Regions from separate parts of the Homo sapiens genome. Here regions 1, 2 and 4 are each linked to region 3. Evidence: promoter capture Hi-C in 16 types of primary human blood cells and fetal thymus (Javierre and others, 2016). All regions are on one chromosome and are shown on one strand. The core of a region is centred on a gene start or on the middle of the fragment in contact, and the rest is flanking DNA. Distances in the headings are between cores, read along the strand shown.

Region 1 (6,714 bases), core at 1,956-4,455, 450 kb before region 3:
AAATGGCCATACTGCCCAAGGTAATTTATAGATTCAATGCCATCCTCCTCAAGCTACCAATGACTTTCTTCACAGAATTGGAAAAAAATACTTTAAAGTTCATATGGAACCAAAAAAGAGCCCACATCGCCAAGTCAATCCTAAGCCAAAAGAACAAAGCTGGAGGCATCACGCTACCTGACTTCAAACTATACTACAAGGCTACGGTAACCAAAACAGCATGGTACTGGTACCAAAACAGAGATATACATCAATGGAATAGAACAGAGCCCTCAGAAATAACGCTGCATATCTACAACCATCTGATCTTTGACAAACCTGAGAAAAACAAGCAATGGGGAAAGGATTCCCTATTTAATAAATGGTGCTGGAAAAACTGGCTAGCCATATGTAGAAAGCTGAAACTGGATCCCTTCCTTACACCTTATACAAAAATTAATTCAAGATGGATTAAAGACTTAAACGTTAGACCTAAACCCATAAAAACTCTAAAAGAAAACCTAGGCATTACCATTCAGGACATAGGTATGGGCAAGGACTTCATGTCTAAAACACCAAAAGCAATGGCAACTAAAGACAAAATTGACAAATGGGATCTAATTAAATTAAACAGCTTCTGCACAGCAAAAGAAACTACCATCAGAGTGAACATGCAACCTACAAAATGGGAGAAAATTTTCGCAACCTACTCATCTGACAAAGGGCCAATATCCAGAATCTAGAATGAACTCAAACAAATTTACAAGAAAAAAAAAACCCATCAAAAAGTGGGCAAAGGATATGAACAGACACTTCTCAAAAGAGGATATTTATGCAGCCAAAAGACACATGAAAAAATGCTCATCATCACTGGCCATCAGAGAATGCAAATCAAAACCACAATGAGATACCATCTCACACCAGTTAGAATGGCAATCATTAAAAAGTCAGGAAGCAACAGGTGCTGGAGAGAATGTGGAGAAATAGGAACACTTTTACACTGTTGGTGGGACTGTAAACTAGTTCAGCCATTGTGGAAGTCAGTGTGGCGATTCCTCAGGGATCTAGAACTAGAAATACCATTTGACCCAGCCATCCCATTACTGGGTATATTCCCAAAGGACTATAAATCATGCTGCTATAAAGACACATGCACACGTAAGTTTATTGCGGCACTATTCACAATAGCAAAGACTTGCAACCAACCCAAATGTCCAACAACGATAGACTGGATTAAGAAAATGTGGCACATATACACCATGGAATACTATGCAGCCATAAAAAATGATAAGTTCATGTCCTTTGTAGGGACATGGATGAAATTGGAAATCATCATTCTCCGTAAACTATAGCAAGAACAAAAAACCAAACACCGCATATTCTCACTTATAGGTGGGAATTGAACAATGAGATCACATGGACACAGGATGGGGAATATCACACTCTGGGGACTGTGGTGGGGTTGGGGGAACGGGGAGGGATAGCATTGGGAGATATACCTAATGCTAGATGACGAGTTAGTGGGTGCAGCGCACCAGCATGGCACATGTATACGTATGTAACTAACCTGCACCATGTGCACATGTACCCTGAAACTTAAAGTATAATTAAAAAAAAGAAAGAAAAAGGAATATAATCAAGGCAATGGTTAAAAAAAAACCATAGAATCTTTAAAATTCCGAGTCTACCATGATGCTCAGGGTGGGTTGGGGGATGAAAGGGTGGAGGGAGAAAAATTCCTTTTTGAGGAAAACTCTGGTTAGTAAAAGTAGAAAGAATAACAGAATTTGGAAATCAACATTTTGCAATCTCCAATGATTGATTTAGATAAGGATCATAACTGGATGCTATGTCCTCTAGGTGAAAGTTACACTTGCAAAGTGTGGCTGACACCATCTGAACCAAGTGAACAAATTTAACATCATCAATAGTGGGACAATCTGACATCATGTGCCTAGTAAGATGATGCAGTGCGTTATACATGGATTATTTATGAAATGTCCTGCTAGAAGTGTTTATCCTGAATCTAATCGGGCTCCAGCTTAATTTAAAGTCTGTGAAAGTTTTAAAATATATTACCCATTTCCCTCCAGGAAGATGACCTCAATTTATACTCTCAGCAGCGTAGTAGACTGCCAGTTTCCCTGAACAAGTTAATTGAGACCACAAGGACACAAAAATACACAGGCAGTATGTGAGATATTCATCAAGACAACAACTGATCTGGATTCTTCTCAAGACAATGTCATGGGTAAAAAAAGCAAGAGAATTCTTCTACATTACAGGAGACGTGCTTGAATCCTGGACTTTTAAAAAAGCTATAAAAGACATTTTGGGACCATTGAGGAATTTTTAGTGTGGAATGGTTATAAATGATATTTAGGAATTATGAATGTCTTCGATGGTCATAATATTCTCCTATTATGGCTATATGGGAGAATGTCCTCATGTTTTAAAGATGAATGCTGAAGAATTTAAAAAAGAAAATAATGTCTGCAACTTACTTTCAAATGATTTAGAAAAATCATGTAAATAGGGCAACAAGTGAAAATACCCCAAATTCTTCTGACTCTGAAGGTCCACAAAACATACTTGAAAAACCACTGGGCTAGGCAATGAACAATCTGGATTCCCCAAATGAGTACTTATGATGGTGACTGGGTGGAGGTCCTGGAAACCTGAAATCTATCCATTTGTGTATGTCTCTCCCAGTGCCTCAACACCTGCAGTTCCTTAAGGCAGCTTCATGAATGAACTTGTTCCCACTGGTTCTTTTTCTGACATGTGAAAGCTTTTATAATCTCAGATCCTGTCTCTTTATCTCATAATAAAGAAAGCTCCCCTCAGCATCTATGTCAACACAGACAAAGGGTTCAATCTGCCAAAATGCCTCAGCAAAGTCTGGCTCTTGACTACAACTGGGGTGTGGGATGAGGTGGCTTTTTCCTCTGATTTCACAACCTCTAAAGGAAATGGATTTTTATTGTTTCTTTTTCTTCTGTAAGCTAAAGGAACTAGGGCTCTAGAGTGGCTTCTACCACTAAGTTCCATCCTTCAACACCAACTGACTCAAGAAAAAACAGTGCAATAAGAGACCACAAACAACTTCCTGAAACACGAAAATAAAATGCATATATTTTCACCTGAATATTTAGAACAATAGGACTTAGCATTAGAAGACTGGGTTCAAATCCTGATTCTGCTTTTAACAAGTAGTGGACGGGTTATGGACAACTAATATCCTAAGCCTCAGTTATTTCACCTGAAAATTGGGGTGCTAATGATAATAAATGCTATGGAAATAAGATGAATAATAGCCATGGAAATAAGATGAGTTAATGGCTATGAACGTGCTTTGTAATATGAAAATGCTATAAAATGATCCTAGCTAGTCTAGTTAACTGAATTAATAAATGAATAATCTGAAGGCCAACAAGGACATGACTTGATTGACATTACAAAGCAAATTTATTTATCTGTTCAATACATTCTCTCCTGGGTTAGGACTTACACTAAAATATGGAGGTTAACTAGACTGTCCTCTTACTACATGTAGATGTATTTGTAGAGATCCATATAGATACATAAGAAATACAGCTGTCTCGCCAAATTTACTGAGTCATCCCAGCACCATACTAAGAGTTTGGGTATATTACTTCACTGAAGCTTATGACTGTCCTATGAGAAAAGTCCTATTATTATCCCCATCATATGAATAAGAACAGTGAGGATACAAAAGGAGAGATTATAAATGCCTGAAAAATATCAGTGAGAATGTAGGAGAAGAAATGGACTTTAGATTGAGCAGGTTGAATACACAGAACATAGAAAACCAATGGGATATAAGGATTAAGGAAAAAAGAGATGACAAGAAACCATGTTGCTATAATTGAGCAAATATTAATGCTATACAGAGGGAAGAACAGGTTGGTGGGGAAAATTTCCATTCATTTAACCAATATTAACTGAGCACTTAATATGTGTCTGACAATATTATAAGCTCTAGGGATATAGCAATAAAAAATATTGGTAAGAGTTCCTATTTTCCTGAACTTATATTCTGGGAACAGGGGAATATGTTCAAGAATTGTTATGTTCTTGATTTTTTGAGGCGCTCATTGAACATTTGGGTGAAGATGTCCAGGAAATACCAGGAAATAGTTGGAGAAATGGGTTTAATTCTCAAAAGAGTTGTTTAAATGAGAGATGAACTTGGGAAATCTTCAGTGTATAAATGGTGATTGAATTTATGAACATGAATGAGGTCACTCAGGCACAGAATATAGTTCCAGAAGAACAGCAGGCTAAAGGTGAAGCCCTTGCAATGCCAATATTTAAGAAGAAGAGTCCAAGAAAGAGATGAAGCAGGAACAGTTAGACAGGTAAAAGGAATGGCAGAAGAGAATGATATGATAAAAACCAAGGAAAGAGAAAGTTATAAGAAGGAATGGTTAGTAGTTTCAAATGCTGTTAAGAGATCAATATGTATAATGAACAACTGAATGTGGCACCCAGAGGGTCCCTATGATTATGGCAAAGGCAGCTTCAGGAGAGAAGTTGGGGCAGGAGGCCAATGTAGTATGTGGAGGGGTGTCTAGAAGAAAAGTCTGTAAAAGCCTCAATTAAAGTGAACTTTTCTGTTGAGAACTTAACCTGCCAGCATGGGCAACATAGCGATACATCATCTTTACAAAAAATAAAAAATTAGCCAGGCATGGTGACACGCACCTGTGTTCCAGCTACTCTGGAGGCCAAGGCAGTAGGATTGTTTGAGCTCCGGAGTTTAATGCTAAAGTGAGCTGTGATCGGGCTACTGCACTCCAGCCTAGGTGACAGAGAAAGACCCTATCTCAAACAAACAAACAAACAAAAACAACAACAACAACAAAAAACTTTATCTGGAGAGAAATATTAATATAAGCAACAGGAGACCAAGAGTGAGGTATTGGCTTTTAAAATAGAGGAACAATGTCAGCGTGTTTGACTGCTTGTGAGAAAGGGTCAGTAACAGAGAAGCTGGAAGAGAAAAGAGAAGGAAAAATGGGTGAGGCCACTGTAGAGACAAAGAGGAGGGATCCAGAACACCCTCCTCCTGACCCTGGACGCAGGGAAGGTGGGATGTAGAAGAGAAAAAATGAGTGAAAGGGAAAGACTCCAAGTTGAGGAAGTTGTTGCTGATGGCTTCTGCAAGGAGGAGGTAATTTTACCTATATTTTCTCACTTTCTTTTATGACAGTTTTTTGAGACAGGAACTCAAAAAATAGTTTTTTGAGAAACTATTAGTGTCCTCACTTCATTAATGAGGAAACTGAGGTTCAAAGAGGTTAAATGACCTGCCCTTGGAAATTTGCAGGGTCAGAATTCAAACCCAGACATTTCACTCAAGTCCCCTAGTCTTTCTTAATGATCACTAGAGAGAGAAATTTAAGGAAAAGAAACATCAATGCCTTCAAACCCAAGAAACCTTCAGAATGATGGTAACCACTGAGAGAAAAGAATAAAATGGACAGGAAAACAGGATAGAGCAAAGGCTGTAGGTACAATAATCGTAATAAAAATGGGTATTTATCTATAGCGTTATCTCTTTTTTCTCCCTATAACAAATAGTTAAACAATATAAACTATGTAAAGGGGCATGAGAAAATAGAAACTGCAAGGCTCGCTTCTAAGGAAATGATTGTTTTGTAAATATATCGTAAGAATTGATCATTAAAACAACATTTTGTAATTATATTAGTTTATGGCAGACAAGAATAATTTATTCAACAAATATTTATTGAGTATCTACTATGTGCCAGATAGTGCTCTAAACCCTGGACATATAATAGTGAATAAATCAGACAAGAGCTCTACTTTTTTGGAGTCTACGTTCTAATGAGAAGACAGGCAGGAAAATAGCAGATTAATCAGCAAATAGCTCAAGTAAAACCAGATGAGGAGTGCTACTTTAGAATGGGTAGTGGAGTGAAATTCTGAAGACATGACATTTGAGTTGAGACCTCATGAACAAGAATCAGTTATATGGAAATCTGAAGCAACACACTTAGGCTGAGGGAACAGTGAATGTCAAGGTTCTGGAGTAGGAGCCACCTTGGCATGTTCAATGAACAGCAAAAAAAAAAGCGTGATGAGCACAGGGAGGACAGTGGCAGGAGATGAGGCTAGAGACATGGGCAAAAACCAGACATGTAGAGCAGCAGTTCTCAGTCCTCGCTGCTCACCAGAATCCCCAGAGGAGCTTTAAAAATATGGATGACTGGGTCCCCACTCCCAGAGAAACTGATTTAATTGGTCTGAGGTGGGGCTCAGGCATAGATCTTTTGAAAAATGCCCTGGGGATTCTGATGGATATCCAAGGTTGAGACTAATATTGAGACTTCTAGCACTTTGGGAGGTCATGGCAGGCACATCACTTGAGGCCAGGAGTTCGAGACCAGTCTGGCCAACATGGTGGAACCCTATCTCTACTAAAAATATAAAAATTAGCCAGGCATGATGGGGCGCACCTGCAATCCCAGCTATTCAGGAGGCTGAGGAATGAAAATTGCTTGAACCGGGGAGGTGGAGGTTGCAGTGAGCTGAGATTCTGCCACTGCACTCCAGCCTGGGCAACAGAGCGAGACTCTGTCTCAAAAAAAAAAAAAAAAAAAAAAAAAAAAGAAATACCTGAAAAAAAAGAAAGAAAAATAAATACCTGAGACTGGGTAACTGGGTACTTTATACAGAAAAGAGGTA
Region 2 (7,372 bases), core at 4,240-6,739, 500 kb before region 3:
GGAGTAGCATGGGGAGGGTGATGGCAGACTAATGTGTAAAATTAGTTCTTACCCGTTCCAGGTATGATGAATATCATCCTGAGGAGGATCTGCAGCACACGGCCAGTGACTTTGTGGCCAAAGTGGATGACCCCAAATTGGCTAATTCTGAGGTGAGCCACATCCCTCTGCTGCTTTGCCCAGCAGAGCTGGTTTTGGAAGGCAAGAATCTTGCTTTTCTTACCCCAGTTTAGTTTAAAGAGAAGGAGAAGAGATCTTAGGTCTCTTCGTTCCTGTCTATAGAACAGAGACTTAAGATCCTGCCTCTTCCTTCTAGTGTTCATTCCCTCATCTCCTTGCCTACTAACTCTTTTTTCTGATGCCTTTGCAAGTCTTTAGAGCCAGAAATCCCTTTCTTTTTGCTCTCTACCTCTTTTAGGGTCTTTAGCATATCTTGTCTGCAGCTAGAGATGGTCAGGGGAGGGGTGAGTACAGGGTCCTCTTGGGCATGGTTGAGAGTGCACACCTGGAAGTCCTTTCCCAAGTGGCCTGTGTGTGTCTCTGTGCCCCAGTTCCTGAAATTCGTGCGGCAGATTGGCGAAGGGCAGGTGTCCCTGGAGTCCGGTGCAGGGTCGGGCCGAGCTCAGGCAGAACAGTGGGCAGCAGAGTTTATACAGCAGCAGGTAGGACATTGTCACTTTCCAGTCCCACTTCAGAGCCAGCTGATGCCCCAGGCCATGGGTTCAGTGGTCAGTGGTCCCAGATGGGGAAGGATAAGACCAGCTTGTCTTGATAGCATCCAGGTCCCAAGTGGGTGGGAAAGAGATTCTGAGAATGATTTTCTCAGAAGTACCCAGGTTGGTGGTGGTTAGTGGGTATTTAGTGTGCGTCTGATGGATAGAAAGTTGGTGGTAGTGGTACTGACCATCCTTTTTTGTCGCAGGGTACATCAGATGCCTGGGTTGACCAGTTCACAAGACCAGTAAACACATCTGCCCTTGATATGGAGTTTGAACGAGCCAAGTCAGCTATAGAGGTGAGAGCAGATAGTGCAGGAGCAGACACCCCAAAAGAAAACACTCCTTGGAGTGAGTGGGTGTATGAACATCAAAGATGATGCAAATTGTATTTCATAGTGGACCTGGATCATCTGTGTCAGAGTTGCTTGGGGATGGGGTGGGTGCTGTTGAAAAATGCAGATTTCTGGGCCAGGCATGGTGGCTCATGCCTGTAATCTCAGCACTTTGGGAGCCCGAGGTGGGTGGATCACCTGAGGTTAGGAGTTCGAGACCAGTCTGAACAACATGGAGAAACCCCATGTCTCTACTAAAAATACAAAATTAGCGTGGTGTGTTGGCGCATGCCTGTAATCCCAGCTACTTGGGAGGCTGAGGCAGGAGAAATGTTTGAAACTGGGAGGTGGAGGTTGCAACGAGATGAGATCACGCCATTGCACTCTAGCCTGGGCAACGAGAGTGAAACTCTGTCTCAAACAAAAAACTAAACTAAACTATGCACTGCACTGCACTGCACTGCACTGCACTGCACTGCACTACATTACATTTCTGGCCATCACCCCAGACTACTAAATCAGTATCTGGGGATAGCATCTGGCCATTTGCATTTTAAAAAACTTATTCAGATGATTCTTAAACATATTGAAATTCAAGAACTGCTGCCTTAGAGAATCCCAGCAGAGCTGAGTGTGGGGTGGGGTGGTCATGATGGATCTCCTTTTTCTATCTGCTTTCCCTTCCTTACAGTCTGATGTCGATTTCTGGGACAAGTTGCAGGCAGAGTTGGAGGAGATGGCAAAACGGGATGCTGAGGCCCACCCCTGGCTTTCTGACTATGATGACCTTACGTCAGCTACCTATGATAAGGTGAGGTAAAAACTCTTAGTTTTTCAGGTTCCAGAACTTCCTTCTTTTTAACGTCTTTCCTTTAATCCTGAATTTGAAGGGTGCTTTTAAGTATTTTCTTGAGTCCCTTTCCACGAAAAGAAGTCTGAATAATTCCCTTGCCCTTCCTCTTCAGTGATTGAGTATAAACTTTATTCTTGGGATATAGATGTTAATGAGACTATCTTTGTCAATAACGACAGTCCAGTACATAACACCTGTGAAGGAGGTTTGCACATGCTTGCTGCATTAAAAGCACAGAGGAAGTAGCTCTGCTTGGAGGTCAGATTGGGAGCTTTTTGAGAAGACTGCTGACTCCTTTGGTGGGGAGTGTTAGTGGACAGACTATCCCTTTGCCTCCACATCTTAATATCTGTTTACTTTTTAAACTCACATATTCATTTTAAGTTCTTATCTTTTATAGGTAGTAGCCACTTGCCCTAATTTAGGGTTTTCAAAGAATTTATATTAGATAACTTAAATATTAGGGAAATTTCTTAGTAGTATGAAAGATGATTGCATTTTGCCTATAGCATGTGCTGTTGACTTAGAAGCATATGTTACTTCTGGGGTCTTACTGAAAAACAAATCTACCTGTGGGTTGTAGGATATTTGGGGATGTGTTTAATAACTGAGCTCCTGAGTTGAAACATGAAGAGGGGAAAGAATCACTTGGTTTTGAAAAAAGGCAAAACAGGAACTGGGGATGTGAGTAGTGATGTCTTTTTCTCAGTTCAGATCTGGTTGGGAAAGTATTGTGGGGCTGGAACCAGGGCCTGAGATGCAAACCAGGGTGCTGGAGATGGATCTTGATGTAATAAGGGAGCTATGCAAAGATGGGAAGATGCAGTTCAGAAAAAGGCTAGAGTTTGAGAGCCAGTGAAGAACAGTATTAGGAAAAATATGATTTTGCTTATTATTCCAGTCTGATCTGGATTTTTCTAACTATCCTGTGTGATATAAGGGAAAAGACAGCTGGGACCTTGCCATGTATTTCACTAGACTATGAGTTCATTGTATATAATTTTGATAAGGAAGAACTGAAGGAAATATAGATAACACTTTTGTTATTATTTTGTATTAACAATTTGATAAGTCACATAGGCCCCATCAACTTATAAATGGAAAGTTGTACATTTATGTAAAAATGTCCATGCTTTTCATACATATAGACATAATACTAGTTTTGTATGAGCAGCATTTTCTTTTATCATTTATTACTCTCGTATTTATGACATGCTGGCCAGAATACATTTTTTTTTTTCAGACACATAGAACAATGTGACAAATTAGAAAGCAAATTTTTTTTTAGAAAAAAAATCACATTTGATCAGGTTCCAAGAATAGAAATGTGGAAAGGATAGTCTTTTCGATAAATGGTATTGGAGAAACTGCATATCCATGTGCAAAAGAGTGAAACTGAACCGTTACCTCACACTATGTACAAAACTTAATCCAAAATGGCTTAAAGACCCAAATGCAGTACCCAAAACCGTAAAATGCCTAGAAGAAAACATAGGGAGAAAGTTTCTTGACATTAGTCTTTGCAATGATTTTTGGGATATGAGCTTTTGGTGTCATATCCAGAATACATTTTTTAATTAAAAACTTTAAAAGTATGTTTGTAGATTCTTGAGCCCTACTTGATATCATTGATACTTTGGGATATTGCAAAATTAGGACTAGAAATACTTGCATTAATGTTCCTCAAAAAGTGATGTAGTAAGCAATTAGACAGTATCTGGCTTTAAGCTAATATTGAATTCCATGTCAATAGAACTTTTTAAAAACAAAGGACTTGACTCTTGATTGTTACATAAATTCATGGATCTCTTTGAATGCACTGTTTGTTTATTGATAGCCCTTATATTTTCAGAGACAATTTACATTGCAGCTCAGGCAGATATTAATATACTATTATGATAAAAGAGAAGTATGTGATGGGACAAACTCTTTGTAGTGATCATTTCTGCAGTTTGATCCTATGAGATTTTGGAGCAGACCAGACCGTGTATCAGATAAAATTAATGACTTGGGTTTGGCTTTTCAGGATGTAACAGTGAAGCCAAGCTTATCCTGTGTTCTGTGGGTTGTTGAGGGATCCCCCAGAGTACTCTTTTTCCATCATCTATGCAAATATTCTAATTTTGGAAAATTCCTCTTTGATCAGCAATTGATGAGACTTCAAGGAGGGTAGATAATATGGATGAGAGGAAACTTAGAGAATCCTGTGGTTGCAAGATGGTGGCATTGAGTTGTTGTATTATCTAATGAAGACACCTGAAGAGCATTCGCATCACTTCTGGCTGTCATATACAGGCCATCATATCTTAAGGAAGTATCTAGAGCAGTGAGGATAATAGCTATTTACAGATAGTATCTTAAGCTTTTTGGTAAGGCGTTGGTGAAGATTCCCATTTGATGTTCTCAATGGCTCTGAGAGGCAGGAATTACTTTTATTAGGAAACTGCATTATAGATGACAGTAATCTCTGTTTTCTGTAGAGTGGCTTAAAACACGTATTAATGATGAACAATAGTTGAGGTTGAATGCAGAAGGATTTATTTTATTGAACTGTAATAGTCTAGGGCAAGGGCCAGCACACTGGCTTGTGGGATAAATCTTTATGTTTTTAGTGATCCACTAGCTGAGGATGGTTTTAACATTTTTAAATGGTTGGAGAAAATCAAAAGAGTAATACTTTGTGACAAGTGAAAATTATATAAAATTCAAATTTTAGTGTCCATAAATAAAATGTTATTGGAAGACAGCCGTGCTCATTTGTTTACTTATGTCTGGCTGCTTTCGCACTACAACAGTAGAGGTGAGTAGTTGCAGCAGATCCACGAAGCCTGAAATATTTATTATCTGGCCCTTCGCAGAAAAAGTTTGCTGATCACTGGACTAGCGTCATTTTCTGCCTTCTTAGTTTTTATATTATGCAGAGATGTCCAAAAACACACTTGTTTTCAATATAAATATACTTTCTATACATTTATCTCAAATCTACTATAATATGTCTTTCTTCTTAAACCCCCCATTGTAATTATTTAATTTTCATTTGTGACAAATAATTTGCATCTGATCATGACTTAGAATTTTGCTGGTAAGATTTAAGTGTTTTTGATTCTTTATCATTTTCACAATAATAATGAAAAAGGGCCTCATGTCTTTATTTTGTACAGTTTTATCTGAATTTATTCTTAACTGCATTTAGAAAGACCTCCACCTGTTGTTTTGCATCTTGTTTTCGTTCTGGTGTATTATTTTATGATGGTAACTACTCTCCAAAAACGGACTTTTTATTTGCATGTCCCAGATTTTGCAGCTTACTAGTGACTTCCCCTTTACCTCATTTCTTCTCTGCCTAGTGTAAAATGCCAGTTGACAAAGCTTTGCAGATAGTATCGTAACTCTTCTCTAAAGTGAGAAATCCTCAGCTGGAAGAGAATGGTGTCTTTCTGAAGTATTCTCTGCCATCTGGATTTTGGGATCCAGCTTTTGCTTACTGTCAGATACAGATTAATATTCATGATTATTAAGAATGAAATCGGGGAATAAATTAACATTTTCAAAATGCTTGAAAATGTTTTATCTAGTTGACATGTGGAATGACTCTGAGCTAAGTAAGAGTTATATTTGAATAGCAGGACTCCAAACAACATTTCCTTTATACATCATCACATTATTGAAGGATAACAAGAAATGCACTTTGCATAGCTAGGGACACTTTGTCTCATTACTATAAGCAGATCCTGTTGAGACATTCTGCCCCGTGGTGAGAAGTCAAGGTGTGGGAATACAAGCCTGTGATGACTTCCTAAAATAAGCTTATTTCCAGCGCAGATGAATTTGTAGACTTTCCTAGCTTCCCAGGTATCATGAACAGGAGATGGGAGCACAAACCTGATACCAAATGATTTTACTTGTGTCATACATGATCTTTATAATATGGAGAATTTGCCAGCAATTAATTCCGGAACCTGTTTGGAGGCCCTCAGCTTCTCTGCCTGCTGGTTGTCATCCTCACATCCCTGCTGTTCTGACGGTGCCACCTCTCAGTCCATCTCTCACGTGCTTTTCTTGTAGGGGTACCAGTTTGAGGAGGAGAACCCCTTGCGTGATCACCCTCAGCCTTTTGAAGAAGGGCTGCGGCGCCTTCAGGAGGGGGACCTGCCAAATGCTGTGCTGCTTTTTGAGGCAGCTGTGCAGCAGGATCCTAAGCACATGGAAGTGAGTGACTCCATAGTCTCATTTCTGGCTAGAGACTGCTTCCTCCATCTTGAGAAAGGCCCCAAGGAGAGTAGTGCAGATGGGTTAGGGCCTGGGTGATGGCCTAGGATAGGGGCTTGAGAGCGAGATGGTGAGTGGGAGAAGCCAGGGGGAAGGGCGAATGGAGAGGTGAATATGGGGTGATGGAATCTGTCAACTTCCCTCTAGGCTTGGCAGTATCTGGGTACCACCCAGGCAGAGAATGAACAAGAACTATTAGCCATCAGTGCATTGCGGAGGTGAGTACACTGAAAGGTGTGGGTGAGGTGCTTCCAAGGCTCTGCATATAACCTTTTGAATGACAGAAGCCCAGACCTGGATCCTTGTCTTCTTTCTGAGTGCTATCAAGAGTGTTTTCTCATGCTGAAACTCTGAGGGTTGGAGTGAATTCCATTCCTTCATCGGCTTTTGATTTTATTTGCGGCTTTGGTTGGCTCCTTGCCTGCTAAAACCTTCCCCTTAGATCTGTAACTTTATTATTAACTCATGTCAGAGGAGTCACAGGTGAGGCCATTGTGACTCTGCATTTCAAAGCTTGGCTTGGATCCCAGGGTGCTCACATGTGCCAGTGTCAGTCATTGCAGATATCAAGTCTGCCCATCCCTGATCAAACAGGTGTCTGGAGCTAAAGCCAGATAACCAGACAGCACTGATGGCGCTGGCTGTGAGCTTCACCAACGAGTCCCTGCAGCGACAGGCCTGTGAAACCCTACGAGACTGGCTGCGGTACACACCAGCCTATGCCCATCTGGTGACACCTGCTGAAGAAGGGGCTGGTGGGGCAGGACTGGGCCCCAGCAAGCGTATCCTGGGATCTCTCTTGTCTGAGTGAGTATGAGGGGTTCCTAGGATGAGGAATTACAGTAACCTAAGTCCCAGTAGGAGGGTGACCTTGGTTTTGGAAGTTTGGATGGATTGAGACTGAAGGGTCCTGAGAATGGGATGGGAAACCTAGGATCAAGTTGAAGGAGGTCTGCATTCTACAGTTCAGTGCTAGGATGAAATAGAAAAACAGGCTTCTATATTGGACTTTGAGAGTAGAAGAGATGACTGATAGATTGATGAATGTTGGGGATATGGTTGATCAATGAAGAAATTAATTTGGGGGGATGGGAATAGAGACATTCATCTACCTACTTTGTGTTTTTTTCCTTTTCATCCAGCTCCCTGTTTCTTGAAGTGAAAGAGCTCTTCCTGGCAGCTGTGCGGCTGGACCCTAC
Region 3 (7,489 bases), core at 774-3,273:
CTCTGTCACCCAGGTTGGAGTGCAGTGGCACGATCTTGGCTCACCGCAACCTCCACCTCCTAGATTCAAGTGATTCTCCTGCCCCAACCTCTTGGGTAGCTGTGATTACAGGTGGTTGCCACCATGCCCGGCTAATTGTTGTATTTATTTTGTTCTGAGATGGAGTCTTGCTCTGTTGCCCAGTCTGGAGTGCAGTGGCATGATCTCGGCTCACTGCAACCTGCACCTCCTGGGTTCAAGCAATTCTTCTGCCTCAGCCTCCTGAGTAGCTGGGACTACAGGCGCCTGCCACTACGCTCAGCTAAATTTTTGTATTTTTAGTAGAGATGGGGTTTCACTGTGTTAGGCAGGATGGTCTTGATCTCCTGACCTTGTGATCCGCCCACTTCGGCCTCCCAAAGTGCTGGGATTACAGGCGTGAGCCACTGTGCCTGGCCTAATTTTTGTATTTTTAGTGGAGACAGTGTTTCACCATGTTGGCCAGGTTAGTCCCGAACTCCTGGCTTCAAGCAATCCACCTGCCTTAGCCTCCCAAAGTGCTGGGATTACAGGCGTGAGCCACTGTGCCCAGCCTAGGTTTTTTACAAATGAGAGTCTATTTCAGCCCTTTTTGTTATCTCACCTCCTAATCCTAAACCCCCTGCAATGGGATTTTTTTGTATTTATCTCTCCAGTGAAATTCTTGCGGACTGATTATCAGAGATTCCCCAGGCAAGAGGGAGATTAGCCAAGAGCTGAACAACAGAAGTAGAAAGTTCACAGTGCCGTAAAGCAGGGCTGCTTAACTTGAGCACCCATCAGAATCACCTGGGGATCACTTCTGGGTCTTCTGGCTAAATGCAGAATTGCCTGGGAGGCTTGTTAAAGCATTACCACTGGGCGCCAGTCTTTGATTCAGTAGGGCTGGTTTGGAGCTCAGAATTTGTATATCTAAGTTAACTAGGTGCTTGTTGTAAACTGCACTTTTTTTTTTTTCCCAAGAGGCAGGGTCCTGCCCTGTCTACCAGGCTGGAGTGCAGTGGCACGATCATAGGTCACTGCAGCCTTTAACTGCTGGGTGATTAAGCGATCCTGGAGACCACACTTTTGAGAATCACTTGCATAAAGTGTTGGGACATGATCTATGCCTATGGCTGCTCATTCTCTATGAAAATATTTCTTAATCATAACTTCAATTTTTGCTTTTTACCAAACCCAAACAAGGTTGCCTTTGAGTATTTTCTCGTGGTTTCCACCTAGAGAGGGAATGGGGGAACGTGCGTATTTGAATAAGACGGGAAAAAGATGAGAGGGGCAGCTGGGGACTTGTTCTTCCACCTCCTGCAGACAATCAGTGGTTAAATGTTGTTGTGCTTTGCTACAAATACAAGCATTTTTTTGTGGGGAGGGAGTAGCAATTTGTAAGGTTAGTTAATTTCAGCTGCTCAGAAATGTTAGGTACTGTTTATAGTTTATAAAGCAAATTAACAAATAAAAAATACATGTCCCTAAAATATCAAGCTATGAAAGTGTTCATAACAGATACTTCTTCATTATTCCTCTCTTCTTAGTAGCAGCAAAGGTTTAAGATGATTGAAGCAAGGAAAACTTAAAGGAAACTTTCTCAGCTTAATTGGGAGTTTATGGGCAGTGGTGGTGGTGGGGCGGGGGCGGTAAAAACTGCCATTCTCCTCTGCACTAGAACACTTAAGCCCAGTTCACAAAACAGAAGCCATCTCCAGGAGTAGAGTTTGGGAAAAAAAAAAAAAAAAAAAAACAAGAAAAAAACAACTTATATGTAAGGCAACCTCAGGGAGACAGAACCACAAAAAGAGGATTTTAATAAATTTTCTAGCAGATATGACATCCGACAGATTATTTTAATGCAAAGCAGATGAAGAACTACCCTATGAGTCTAAACTACACCCATTCACCTTTAATCATTTGGATCCCTTAATCCTCTAATCATGGGATCATTAACATTCAAATATCCTGGAAGATTGGCTTATCTGTATTTTAAAAGGAAGCCGGACCTATAGTTTACGTCAGTTCTTTGACCATTCGTTGGAGCTCCGGTTTTCAGCCTCTTTCCGGGCTACCTGGTAGCAATTTGAGGCTCTGTCATCAGTTTCTGCTACGTTTCAAAGATCCTGGAGAAGCCTAGTGTTGTGTCAAGACGCCGATGGACCCATCACAGTTTAATCCAACCTACATCCCAGGGTCTCCACAAATGCTCACCGAAGAAAATTCCCGGGACGATTCAGGTAAGCCAGATAATGCCCTTCTTGACTATCTGACTATAGGGGGGTTGGGAGGTCAAAAGGCTGCCGTCTTTTTTTTTTTTTTTTTTTTTTTTTTTTTAATGTTGACTTCAGTCTTTGCAAGAGGAATGTATTTAGGTAAACCTCAAACCAGAGGGAGTCAACACAGAGAGGTCAAAGACTTTATTAAAAGCGGTGATGGTGGTGGTGAGAAATGTATTATTTTATTCACTATGCTTAGGAGTACTTCAGATTTCTTTCTTTTTTTTTCTTTTTTTTTTTTTGAGACGGAGTCTTGCTCTGTCGCCCAGGCTGGAGTGCAGTGGCGCGATCTCGGCTCACTCCAAGTTCCGCCTCCTGGGTTCACGCCATTCTCCTGCCTCAGCCTCCCAAGTAGCTGGGACTACAGGCGCCCGCCACCGCGCCCGTTTTTTTTTTTGTATTTTTGGTAGAGACGGGGTTTCACCGTGTTAGCCAGGGTGGTCTTGATCTCCTTACCTCGTGATCCGCCCGCCTCGGCCTCCCAAAGTACTGGGATTACAGGCTTGAGCCACTGCGCCCGGCCAGTACTTCAGATTTCTAAGACCAGTTTCTGGGGATAAATAATTGGAATCACAGAACGCGGCTCGTAGCGTCGTTGCATCAGTATCTTCCCCAACAGCAAATACATGTCAGGAACGGTAAAAAGGAACAAATACAGAGACCAAATAAACAAAAGATAGGGAAAAAAAATGAAACAATATGAGAAACTTTAACTTCAGTTGAACCTAAAGTTTTTCTTAATCTCTCGCCAACATTATTTTTATTTATATATTTTTTTGAGACGGAGTCTCTGTCGCCCGGGCTGGAGTGCAGTGGCGCGGTGTCGGCTCACTGCAACCTCCGCCTCTCGGGTTCAAGCAATTCTCCTGTCTCAGCCTCCAAAGTAGCTGGATTACAGGCATGTGCCACCACGCCCGGCTAATCTTTTGTATTTTTAGTAGAGACAGGGTTTCACTATGTTGGCCAGACTGGTCTCGATCTCCTGACGTCGTGATCCGCCCACCTCTGCCTCCCAAAGTGCTGGGATTACAGGCGTAAGCCAGCGCGCCCGTCCTATTTTTATTTTTATTTTTATTTTTGACAGTGGGTCTCTCCATGTTGCCCAGGCTGGTATCGAACACTTGGGTTCAGTCCATCCTCTTGCGTAGCTGGGACTGCAGGCGTGCGCCACCGAGTCCGGGCTCTAAGCCAACATTTTTGAGACAGGCTTTCCAGCTAAATGTTAATAAACAGACTAACAGCTTCACTGGGAAAATGGAAGGGAGAGGCCGTAAACGTGCTCCGTAATGTAAATTAGTAGCAGGACCTCCACCGGAGGGCGGCTTATCTAGAAACTGCTTGGGTAATTCTGCTCCCTGATAGGCCGGGTCTTCCGGTGGAGAACTCCTTTCTTACAGCAGCACCCAAGCGCGGGCTTGGCCACAGAGGCCCTCCACGTGGTTTGAAGTCTTATTTATGACCCTGACAGCGGGGCTGGGTGTCTAGGGTGGTGGCGGCAGAAACCCTGGAGCCAACACCTTCGACTGCCCGATGCTGGGAGGTCTGGGAACTGGGCCGCTGGCGCGCTGACGCCCTCTGCGCCTGGTCTTAGCTGTGTCCCCTGCGTCCAGAAGAAAGAATGCTGGTCTATATATCCGAGTGGGAAAGAAAAATGAACGTACCCCCAGTCTCTCCCTTTCCTTGCGTCTGCCTTAGTACCTCACAGTTCCACAAAGGATCCTCGTTTCTATGTGCACAGGTCCCTAGACTTTGAGAATCGATCTCGAACTTTGATATTGTTTAATACTTTCACATATAGGGGGCAAAAAACAAAACAAAACACACATACACGGGCAGTTAACGATAACCTTCTTATTGTATGAGATATGCGTATGTATGGGATACGCCTCACAGTTCGGATGGGAGAGACGAGAATGAGTGGTTGATTTCCCAAAATAGAGTTTGAGTGAAGAGATCTAATACCATGAAGGAGCTGGGCAACTAAATTAGGGCTAACTGGAGAGGGTAACAGCCACTTACTTCGACTGCCCAGTTTTGCTTAAGGATGAGGATTCTGGGAGAAAATAGTATATGGGTTTTTCTTGTCTCTTTCACAAGATTCCACAGAATGTACGGTAGGTAATGCTTGTGAGATACTCAGTGGATCTCTTAAGTGTAAGTGAACAAAGCTAGCTCAGGGCAGCGTGTGGGACACGCTTGTAGCGCCAGCTACTCTGGACGCTGAGGTGGGAGGATCCCTTGAGCCTGGGAGGTAGAGGCTGCAATGAGCCATGATAGTGCCACTGCACTCCAGCCTGGGTGACAGAGCAAGACCCTGTCTCAAAAAATAACAGTCTACCATCCTGGCTAACACGGTGAAACCCCTTCTCTACTAAAAAATAGAAAAAAATTAGCCGGGCATGGTGGTGGGCGCCTGTAGTCCCAGCTGCTCGGGAGGCTGAGGCAGGAGAATGGCGTGAACCCGGGAGGCGGAGCTTGCAGTGAGCCGAGATGGCGCCACTGCACTCCAGCCTGGGAGGCAGAGCGAGACTCCGTCTTAATAATAATAATAATAACAGTCTAGAAAACAAGGGATTACAGTCATCCCTCGGTTATACTCTGGGAATTGTTCCAGGACATCCCCAAAATCTGTAAGTGATCAAGTGCCACAGTGGGCCCTGCGAAACCTTGTGAAAAAGGTTAACAGTGTGTGTGGGGATTTCGAATTTTGTGATTGGTTGGAAAAAATTCTCGCGTAAGTGGGACCCAAAGTTTAAACCCGTGTTGTTCAAGGGTCAACTGTGTTATCATGTGCCCCTGTACAAGTGACTTCTTCCTGCCTTGACTTTCCTTTTTTTTTGAGACGGAGTTTTGCTCTTGTTGCCCAGGCTGGAGTGCAGTGGCGCAACCTGAGGTCACTGCAAACCTCCGCTTCCCGGATTCAAGCGATTCTCCTGCCTCAGCTTCCCGAGTAGCTGGGATTACAGGCATGCACCACCACCACGCCTGGCTAATTTTGTAGTTTTATTTCTATTTTTATTTTTATTTATTTATTTTTTTGAGACGGAGTCTTGCTCTGTCCCCCAGACTAGAGTGCAGTGGCGCGATCTCGGCTCACTGCAAGCTCCACCTCCTGGGTTCACACCATTCTCCTGCCTCAGCCTCCCAAGTACCTGGGACTACAGGCGCCCGCCACAACGCCCGGCTAATTTTTTGTATTTTTTAGTAGAGAGGGGGTTTCACCGTATTAGCCAGGATGGTCTCGATCTCCTGACCTTATGATCTGCCCGCCTCGGCCTCCCAAAGTGCTGGGATTACAGGCGTGAGCCACCGCGCTGGGCTAACTTTGCGATTTTTGAGAAAAGACTAGAGGTTGTGCGTTGTTTACTGTGACCTTCCACCCTGAGGAATTTCCCACACAGCGCCCTGTTCCCCTGCTTAAGGGCAGACCTAGTTGATGTGTGAATGTTGAAGATCCCCTTAATGTAATGGCTTTTAACCTTCTCTTTCAGGGGCCTCTCAAATCTCCTCCGAGACGTTGATAAAGAACCTTAGTAACTTGACTATCAACGCTAGTAGCGAATCTGTTTCCCCTCTATCGGAAGCTTTACTCCGTCGAGAGTCTGTAGGAGCAGCAGTCCTCAGGGAAATCGAAGATGAGTGGCTTTACAGCAGGAGAGGAGTAAGAACATTGCTGTCTGTGCAGAGAGAAAAGATGGCAAGATTGAGATACATGTTACTCGGCGGAGTTCGTACGGTATGTTGATGTGATGTGGCCGGGGCTGTCCAATTCCGGAGAGTGACACTCATAAATTAAGACCTAATTAAGACTCCCTAGCTCTAGGCCCGGTGCGGTGGCTGAGGCCTGTAATCTGAGCACTTCGGGAGGCTGAGGCAGGTGGATCACCTGAGGACAGGAGTTCGAAACCAGCCTGGCCAACATGGTGAAACCCTGTCTCTACTAAAAATACAAAAAGTTAGCTGGGCCTGGTGGTGGGCACCTGCAATCTCAGCTACTTGGGAGGCTGAGGCTAGAGAATTGCTTGAACCCTGGAGGCGGAGGTTGCAGTGTGCCGAGATTGTGCCATTGCCCTCCAGCCTGGGCAACAAGAACAAAACAAGCGTCTCAAAAAAAGACTCCCAGCTCACGTCTGTAATCCCTGCACTTTGGAAGGCTGAGGTGGGAGGATCACCTGAGCTCAAGGAGTTCCAGACCAGCCTAGGCAATATAAAAAATTAATAAAATCAGCCATCTCTACAAAAAATTAATTAGCTGGGTGTAGTGGTGCGTGCCTGTAAGTCCCAGCTGCTGTGGGGTGGGTGGCTGAGGGCTGAGGCAGCTGGATCACTTGAGCCTGGGGGGTTAAGGCTGCAGTGAGCCATGATTGCTCCACTGCAATCCAGCCTGGGCAACAGAGAAAGACCCTGTCTCAACAAATTCCCTAGCTTCTCTCCCTTATATAGATGTGTAATATTAGTAATCTTTTTCTTGATAGTTTTCAATAAACATATTTTTTTCCCATGAAGCATGAAAGAAGACCAACAAACAAGGAGCCTAAGGGAGTTAAGGTAAGTATAATTTTTTTCTTTTTATTTTCCTTTTTTTTTTTTGGCTATATATGTGGATGGGTATCTGGTTTGTTTCCTTTTGCCGGAATAGGGAATTAGGGAATTTGCTTGGACTTTCTGAATCCCCAGGGACTCTGGATAAGTCAGTTCATGTTTGTAGTTTTTAAAAATATATTCTTTATTCTTTATTTTTCAGAGAAGTTTTATGTTCATAGCCTTTCCCCCACACCCCACACATGCCGCCTCTACTGTCAACGTCACACACCAGAATTGCACACTTTGCAGCTGATGAACTTACCCTGACAGGATTATCATCCAGAGTTCATAGTTTACACTAGGGGTCACTCTTGGTGTTAGGTTGATACTTTCACGTGCTGTCACAAATATCTTCACGGTAGCACTGTATAGTAAGAGGACAAACACTTCAGCAGAGTGTCTAGTAGCAGAATGAGTTACATTTAAGGCATTCAGAGAACGGAGACTAGAATGTTTTATTGACAGTCTGCACTTGTTACCATTACAAAATGACCCACAAGCTGCCATTCTGTGGTACCCATATTTTGATCTTTTTTTCTCCTAAAATGTTTTGCTTTTGGCCCGTGTGTCCTTTTTTGTGTGTGTTCCCTGTTCCAACACTTACCAAAATAAACAACATTATA
Region 4 (7,176 bases), core at 4,584-7,083, 470 kb before region 3:
GTACACAGATGTTTGTCCCTTGCTGTTTTCTACAGCAGAGGAAATCACAATTGTGAATTCACAAAAAGAGTAACTTTAATGTAGATTGGGGCACTATGGAGAGGAAACCTGTCATGCACTGCTCCCCTGCCATCTCACAGATTATTCTGCCTTGCCATCCAGGAGTCTCACCTCTAAATTTTTCCACAGCACTCAGCCCCTTGGGAAATGTCAAGTCCCTCACTGAGATGGAGATGACTTCCCTCATTGAGATGACTTCCCTCACTGAGATGACTTCCCTTATAGGAAGCAGGCTCTCCAGGATGGACCATCTTACCTGGTTTTTGTGAAATTCTAATAAATAAAAATTTCCCCATCCCATTACACCCATGATTGACTCATACAAGATCCAGTTCTCATGTCTTCCGAGGTAGACATCTGTGCCCTCTCTGGAGTGCCCTATATGCTGTGTTGAAGTATTTCTCAGCAGCCTAAAACAATTACTTATTTTTGAAACATTTATTATTGAAAATCTCAAAAGACATACAAAAATAGACAAAATTGTATATTGAATTCTCATGTATCTACTGCCCCATTTCAACAATTATTACCTTATGGCTAATCCTGTTTTTTCATTACTCCTAACCAATCTCCAAAATTACATTTTATTCATAAATAGCTTTAGTATATATATCTAAAAAACAAGGACTCTAAAAACAAACATATTCTCCAATTATACCTAAAAGTTAACAATAATTGCTTCTTACGATCAAATATCCACCATTCACATTTTCATTGATTATCTAAGTCATGCATCTTTTCTTGCTACCATTTGTTCCAATTAAGCTCACACATTGGGTTAGTTGATAAGTGTTTTGTGTATCTTTTAATCTATGAATTTTCTCATTACCTTCTTTTTCCCTTGCAATTTGTTATTTTCAAGAACTGAGTTGTTGGTTTTTTTGAATATTTCACAGCTTGAATTTTGCTAATTGCATACATATGGTGTGGTTTACATGTTCTTCTGTTCCCCTACATTTCCTGTAAATTGATCTAGAGGTTTAGTCAGACTCTTGCTTGATTTTTTTTTTTTTTAACAAGACTACTTCTTAGGCTGTATAATGTTGTTCTCTTAGGAGGCACATAATGTCTGGTTAGGTTATTTTTTTCATGATGATAGTAGCCATTGATGATTATGACTAGATCCATTAATTTATTGCTTTTTGAAGATAAAAACTTGTCTGCATTTCTTTAAATAGGGTCTACTCTGTGCCACTCCCAAAATAATAAAATTGAAGCCACGCTCTCTGCTACCTTATATTGTCCAGGTAGGAGATCATAGTAATGATTATGACAGCTATTATTAAGTGAGCTCTTACGGTTTTTTATCTAAATTTCTAACATAAAGGTAGGCAACAAGGAAAGTCCAACATTCTCTAAATGCACCCCAAGGGTAATCTCACATTATTGCTTTTATTTTCCCCTCAATGTCCTTTTAGAATAAAGAGCCTAGACACAGGAATGAGGGAAAGAGATGCTGACAATTTTGCAGAATATCCCTTTAATGTAGTTCAAGTTTCAAACATGGAGAAAGTAAAGAAAAACATATTTGCTATTAGAAAGATATGAGCAAAATAAAGACAACTATTTTGAATGTACCATAATAAGGGTTCTGTACTTGAACTAAAAATACACTAAAGTGGGAAGTCTTAGCCGCTGGTCAGCTGCTCAGGTGTTGATTATAAACACTGTAGTGTATTTGGGAATGGTGTTGCTGAATTCACAGTACAGGCATAGGTAGCAATACTAAGATGGTAAGGCAAATGTTAGTGTCTAGCATTTTATTACATAAAAGCAGGCTCAAATTAGCAGCAGTTATAAAATTACCATTATTCATTTTAAGATAGTCCTTTGCCTTCATGTGTATCTTGCCTTTTTTTATACATTGGTCAAAAGGAAATAGTAAGTTCTCAACCTGAATGAGACAAACATTAGTATTTACTTTAACTATTGTATCATTCCGAAATTGACCCAATTTTTTAAAGATGTTTATTGTAGAGTTCTATTGTTTGTTTTTTGTTTGCATATCCATTTTTACTATATATTATTTAACAGAGTGTGGAAGTTAGCCTAATTTGTTGCGGTTTATATGTTTGTTTTTTCCAATAATCATGAATAGGTATTACATTATATTAAATGAGTTTTCCGATTCTGTTGAAAAGATAAAATAGTTTTTCTCGACTAACCTGTTAGAGTTAATTTAAAAATATTTTCAAATGTTAAATTTGCATTGCATTTCTTTCCTGATTTTATTTTCTTGGGTAAAATTTCTTAATTTTTGTTTGTTTGAACCTTTGCATTTAGAGTCATGAATAAAATGAGCATATAATTTTCCTCTCAAAAAATAAGAAAAAATTAAAATGTTCATTGCATACTAAAGTATGAACAAAAAATAAAAAATAAAATGTTCTTTAGGATTTTCTTAGAAAAAACTCTTTCCACAAAATCAACAAACCCTATAACTATGAAAAGTAAAAGAGAAAAATACTCAAAGAAAGAAAATCAGGAGTGAAAGAGGAGACACTGCAACTCCTGCCACAGAAATGTGAAGAATCCCTAGAATAATTATACGTCAACAAAATGGACAACTTAGAGAAAATAAAGTCCTGAAAGCATACAACCTACCAAGACTGAATTATGAAGAATTAAAAAGTCTGAACAGACCAATAACAAATAAGGAGATTAAATTAGTAATCAAAAACCTTCCAGCGGGTGTGGTGGCTCACGCCTGTAATCCCAGCATTTGGCAGGCCAAGGCTGGTGGATCGTTTGAGGTCAGGAGTTTGAGACCAGCCTGGCCAACATGGTGAAACCCTGTGTCTACTAAAAATACAAAAATTAGCTGGGTGTGATGGCACGCACCTGTAATTCCAGCTACTTGGCTGGCTGAGGCAGGAGGATCGCTTGAACCCGGGAGGTGGAGGTTGCAGTGAGTGAGATTGTGCCACTGCACTGCAGCCTGGGTGACAGAGCAAGACTCCATCTCAAAAAACAAACAAACAAACAAAACCCCAAAAAACAAAAAACAAAAAGCCTTCCAACAAAGAAAAGCCCAGACCCAAATGGCTTCACACATGCTTTCTACCAGAATGAGGGACAAAGATGACTTGATAATCTCAAAAGATACAGCAAAAGCATTCCACAAGATTCAACACCCTTTGATGATAACAACTCTCAACAAATTAGGTATAGAAGGAATTTACCTTGACAAAATAAAGGCCATATATAAAAAGCACACAGCTAACATCATACTCAACGGTCACAAACTGAAAGCGTTTTCTCTCAGATCTGGAACAAGGAAATGATGTACATTCTCACCACTTCTATCCAACATAGAATTAGAAGTCCTAGCCAGAGTAAGTAGACAAGAAAAGAAAATAAAAAGTATTCAAATCAGAAAGGAAGAAGTAAAATTATCTCTGTTTGCAGATTACATGATCTTATAGATGTGCAGAAAATTATATTTCTATATATGATATATAGAAAATTCTAAAGATTTACCAAAAAAACTTAGGATAAACAAATTTAACAAAGTTTCAGGATACAATATCGATGTACCAAAATCAGTTGTGTTTCTATACACTACAATAAATTGTCCAAAAAGGAAATTAAGAAAACAATTTTGGCCGGGTGAGGTGGCTCACACCTGTAATCCCAGCAGTTTGGCCGGCCAACGTTTGGATCACTTGAGGCCAGGTGTTTGGGACCAGACTGACCAACATGGTAAAACTCCAGATCTCTAAAAATACAAAAATTAGCTTGGCGTGGTGGCACACGACTGTAATTCCAGCTACTTGGGGGGCTGAGGCAGGAGAATCGCTTGAACCTGGGAGGCGGAGGTTGCAGTGAGTCGAGATTGCGCCACTGCACTCCAGCTTGGGTGACAGAGCAAGATTCTGTCTTAAAAAAAAAAAAAGTTTAACTCATAGATCCAGAAAGTGAATTGGTGGTTGCCAGGAGCTGGTGGGGAGGAGAAAACAGGAAGGTATTCATCAAAGGGTACAAAATTTCAGCTACACAGAGAATAACTGCTAGAGATCTACTGTACAGCATAATGCCAACAGTTAACAATACTGTATTATATTCTTAAAATCTTGCTAAGGAGATATTTTAAGTGTTCTTATTACCAAAATAATAATAATAATAAAGTCAGAGGGTGGAAGGAAACTTTTTGGAGGTGATGAATAGGTTTTTAATTTTTCAATTTGTCAAAATGAAGTATTGTAACTTAATTTCTTACATTCCCCATCCAACACACACGTGTGCACACACACAACTTCCCACAGAGAAAAGGCCAGGCCCAGATGGCTTCATGGTGAATTCCATCCAACATTTAAGGAAGCATTAACATTAATCCTTCACAAATTCTCCAAAAAATATGTAAGACCAGGATTTTGGAGGCTGGGCCTCAAAATGGGGTCATAGTATGAGCCACGATTATCTTGACACCAAAACCAAAGACATCACAAGAAAAGAAAACCACAAATTAATATTCCTTATGACTATAGGTGCAAAAAAATTCAAAAACATACTAGCCCACCTAACAAGGAACATATAAATGGAATATATTTCACAACCACGTGGGATTATACCAGAAATACAAAATTGGTTCAAACTATGAAAACCAATTAATATACCATATTAGTAAAACAAAGGACATAAATCACCTGATCATCTGAGTAGATGCAGAAAAATCATTGACAAAATTTAACACCTATTTATGGTAACAACCCTCAACAAACTAGCAATGAAAGGGAACTTTCTCAACCTGTTAAAGGACATATACAGAAACCCCACAGCTCACATCATACTCAACAGTTAAAGACTGAAAGTGCTCCCATTGAGATCAGGACTTACAAGAATATTCACTCTTGCCACTTCTATTCAACATAGAGGTGTTCTATCCAGGGCATTTAGGCAAGAAAAAGAAATAGCATCCAAATTGGAAAAGAAAAAGTAAAACTATCTCTATTCAACAGATAACATCACAATGTATATAGAAAATCCTGAGGAATACATACATACAAACACATACACACACTATTAGAGCTAATAATTGAGTTCATCAAAGTTGCAGGATATAAGATCAATATATAAAAATTATATCAACTGTATGTCTATATAATATCAATAAACAATCAAAAAATAAAATTCATAGAACAATTTCATTGAAAATAGAATCAGTTTTTAAAAATCTCATTTAAAATTGTATTCTCCAGATAATTTATCTAATTTACTAGACTTAGTACTAAATGCCACTTTTTTCCCTAAAGTCTAAAGTTTGCCATCAAAGTATGAAGATCTACTATCTCTGAGCACCTTCTGATCCTTAGAGCTGGTGCTTCCTATATAAAAGTTTCAAAGTATTCAGCAAGGATAATAAATTCAAGATGAGTATGAAGATTGCTTTCCAAGGTGATAACCTGGAAGGTTGTGGCCTCAAAATTGAGGTAGCATCTCAGTCCACTTTTTAACTCATGTCACATTACTTCACGGTCATATCCTCTATTTTAGTCAATAAAGAAGCCACTCAGCTGAAATAACTCATTATTTTCAAATTTTTTTTTTATTTGCTCCCAACCTGCCTTCCAATCCTTGAAAGGAAAAAATAACACCACCTCCTATACTGTTATAAAACTGCCAAATCTGTTTTTAAAATTTCATGTTTTTTATATTTATTTTCTTAAACATTTGATGACTAATTAAGCTTCCTGGTTGGAAAGGCCTTCCCGAGATGCTGGTTTCTTAAAACTTTGTACTAACCAGGCACTGGAGCCCTTACCTGTATCACCTTATTTCATCCTCACAATAAAGCTATACAGTAGGTGCATTTTTAAATCTCTGCTTTTCTAGATGAGGAAACTGAGGTTCAGAGAAGCATCCAAGCTTCTCAAAGTCAGAAGGTGTCAGAGTGGACATGCAAACCCAAATGTTTCCAGCTCTGGCACCCTCACACTCACCACCCAACCACACCCCTCTTAGGTTGCCCAGTTTCTAGGTACACTGACCAAGCACTTTCCTGGAATATTGAATGGGGGTAGTAAGGCTTAAGTTTAGATCCTGTGTTTAGATCTGGTAGGAAGAGCACAAATGGTTTGTAAGGAAAATCCCTTTAATGGTTACCTAATTTCAGATTGTGGGTGAAAACTCAAATATCCTGTCTCTAGGGGAAGAAGGAAATATTACAATTCATATAAAACTAAACCAACCTGTTTCTCTGTACTGTCCACACATGGTAAGAAAAGTTTCTTTTTCTCTAAATACTTTCATTGTTGCTACTAATCATAGTGCCATTGTTTTTGAGTACTTTATGATTTGTCAAGTACTTTTGTCCCAACTTTTAATTTTGCAAATTTTTGAGTCTACAAGTGTCAAAATAGTAGCACAATGAACACCTACTTGTACATCTCTCACCTATATTCACTTATTATTAAAATTTTGCCTCATTTACTTTATATTTGCTTTTTTCTTTCCTTTTTTGAGACAGAGTCTCACTCTGTCACCCAGACTGGAGTGCAGTGGTGCGATCTCTACTCACTGCATCCTCCGCCTCCTGGGTTCAAGTGATTCTCCTGCCTCAGCCTCCCGAGTAGCTGGAATTACAGGCACCCACCACCATGCCTGGCTAATTTTTGTATTATTAGTAGAGACGGGGTTTCACCATGTTGGCCAGCCTGGTCTCAAACTCCTGACCTCAAGTGATTGGCCCACCTTGGCCTCCCAAAGTGCTGGGATTACAGGCATGAGCCACTGCACCCGGCCTATTTGTATATTTTTAATGAGACATTTGGGAGTAAGTGCAGACATTATGATACTTTGTTCTTAAATATTTCAGCAGCATTCTCTGAAGAACAAAGATTTTCTTCTTAATCATCAGCATTATTACATCTATGAAAATTAAAAATAATTCTTTAATTCTATCTAATATCCAGCCAATATTTAGATTTTCTCAGTTGTACTCGAATGTGTTTTACAGCTTTGGTAAATCCAGAATTCAATCAAGGTTCATTTATTTATTTGGTTCTCATATCTCCTTAGTTATTTTTATCTAAAACTGTCCCACCACCATTGTTTGTTTTTCATGACATGGACATTTTGAAGAGTAGAGGACTGTTGTGTTAGAAAATGCCTCACTTT

What was found. Contacts are between HindIII fragments. The CHiCAGO score rates a contact against its expected background, and 5 or more counts as called.
Region 1: a fragment that was not itself captured here is called in contact with the fragment with the promoter of DPPA3 in region 3 in 1 of 17 cell types (naive CD8 T cells); the score reaches 6.7 in naive CD8 T cells.
Region 2: a contact is called between a fragment that was not itself captured here and the fragment with the promoter of DPPA3 in region 3, in 6 of 17 cell types (M0 macrophages, M2 macrophages, total B cells and 3 more). The highest score is 7.9, in M0 macrophages.
Region 4: a contact is called between a fragment that was not itself captured here and the fragment with the promoter of DPPA3 in region 3, in 13 of 17 cell types (total CD4 T cells, non-activated CD4 T cells, naive B cells and 10 more). The highest score is 14.2, in total CD4 T cells.

The regions. Positions count from the first base shown.
Region 1 is chr12:7,255,664-7,262,377 of GRCh38, forward strand. No RefSeq gene overlaps it. Among named protein-coding and RNA genes, the nearest start is that of ACSM4, 45 kb to the right of the region's middle. RefSeq lists a silencer at 3,447-3,647. The HindIII fragment of the contact is 875 bases long and covers 2,769-3,643 here.
Region 2 is chr12:7,201,690-7,209,061 of GRCh38, forward strand. PEX5 (peroxisomal biogenesis factor 5) reads left to right here. Exons shown (of 16, transcript NM_001351132.2): 7 at 62-152; 8 at 552-662; 9 at 923-1,015; 10 at 1,743-1,862; 11 at 5,970-6,113; 12 at 6,321-6,391; 13 at 6,768-6,980; 14 at 7,316-7,372. Among named protein-coding and RNA genes, the nearest start is that of PEX5, 16 kb to the left of the region's middle. The HindIII fragment of the contact is 437 bases long and covers 5,272-5,708 here.
Region 3 is chr12:7,709,410-7,716,898 of GRCh38, forward strand. DPPA3 (developmental pluripotency associated 3) reads left to right here and starts at 2,024. Exons shown (of 4, transcript NM_199286.4): 1 at 2,024-2,243; 2 at 5,774-6,018; 3 at 6,789-6,830. The coding sequence starts at 2,162. The HindIII fragment of the contact is 13,723 bases long and covers 1-5,864 here.
Region 4 is chr12:7,231,263-7,238,438 of GRCh38, forward strand. It overlaps the pseudogene LOC100420983. Among named protein-coding and RNA genes, the nearest start is that of PEX5, 45 kb to the left of the region's middle. The HindIII fragment of the contact is 179 bases long and covers 5,745-5,923 here.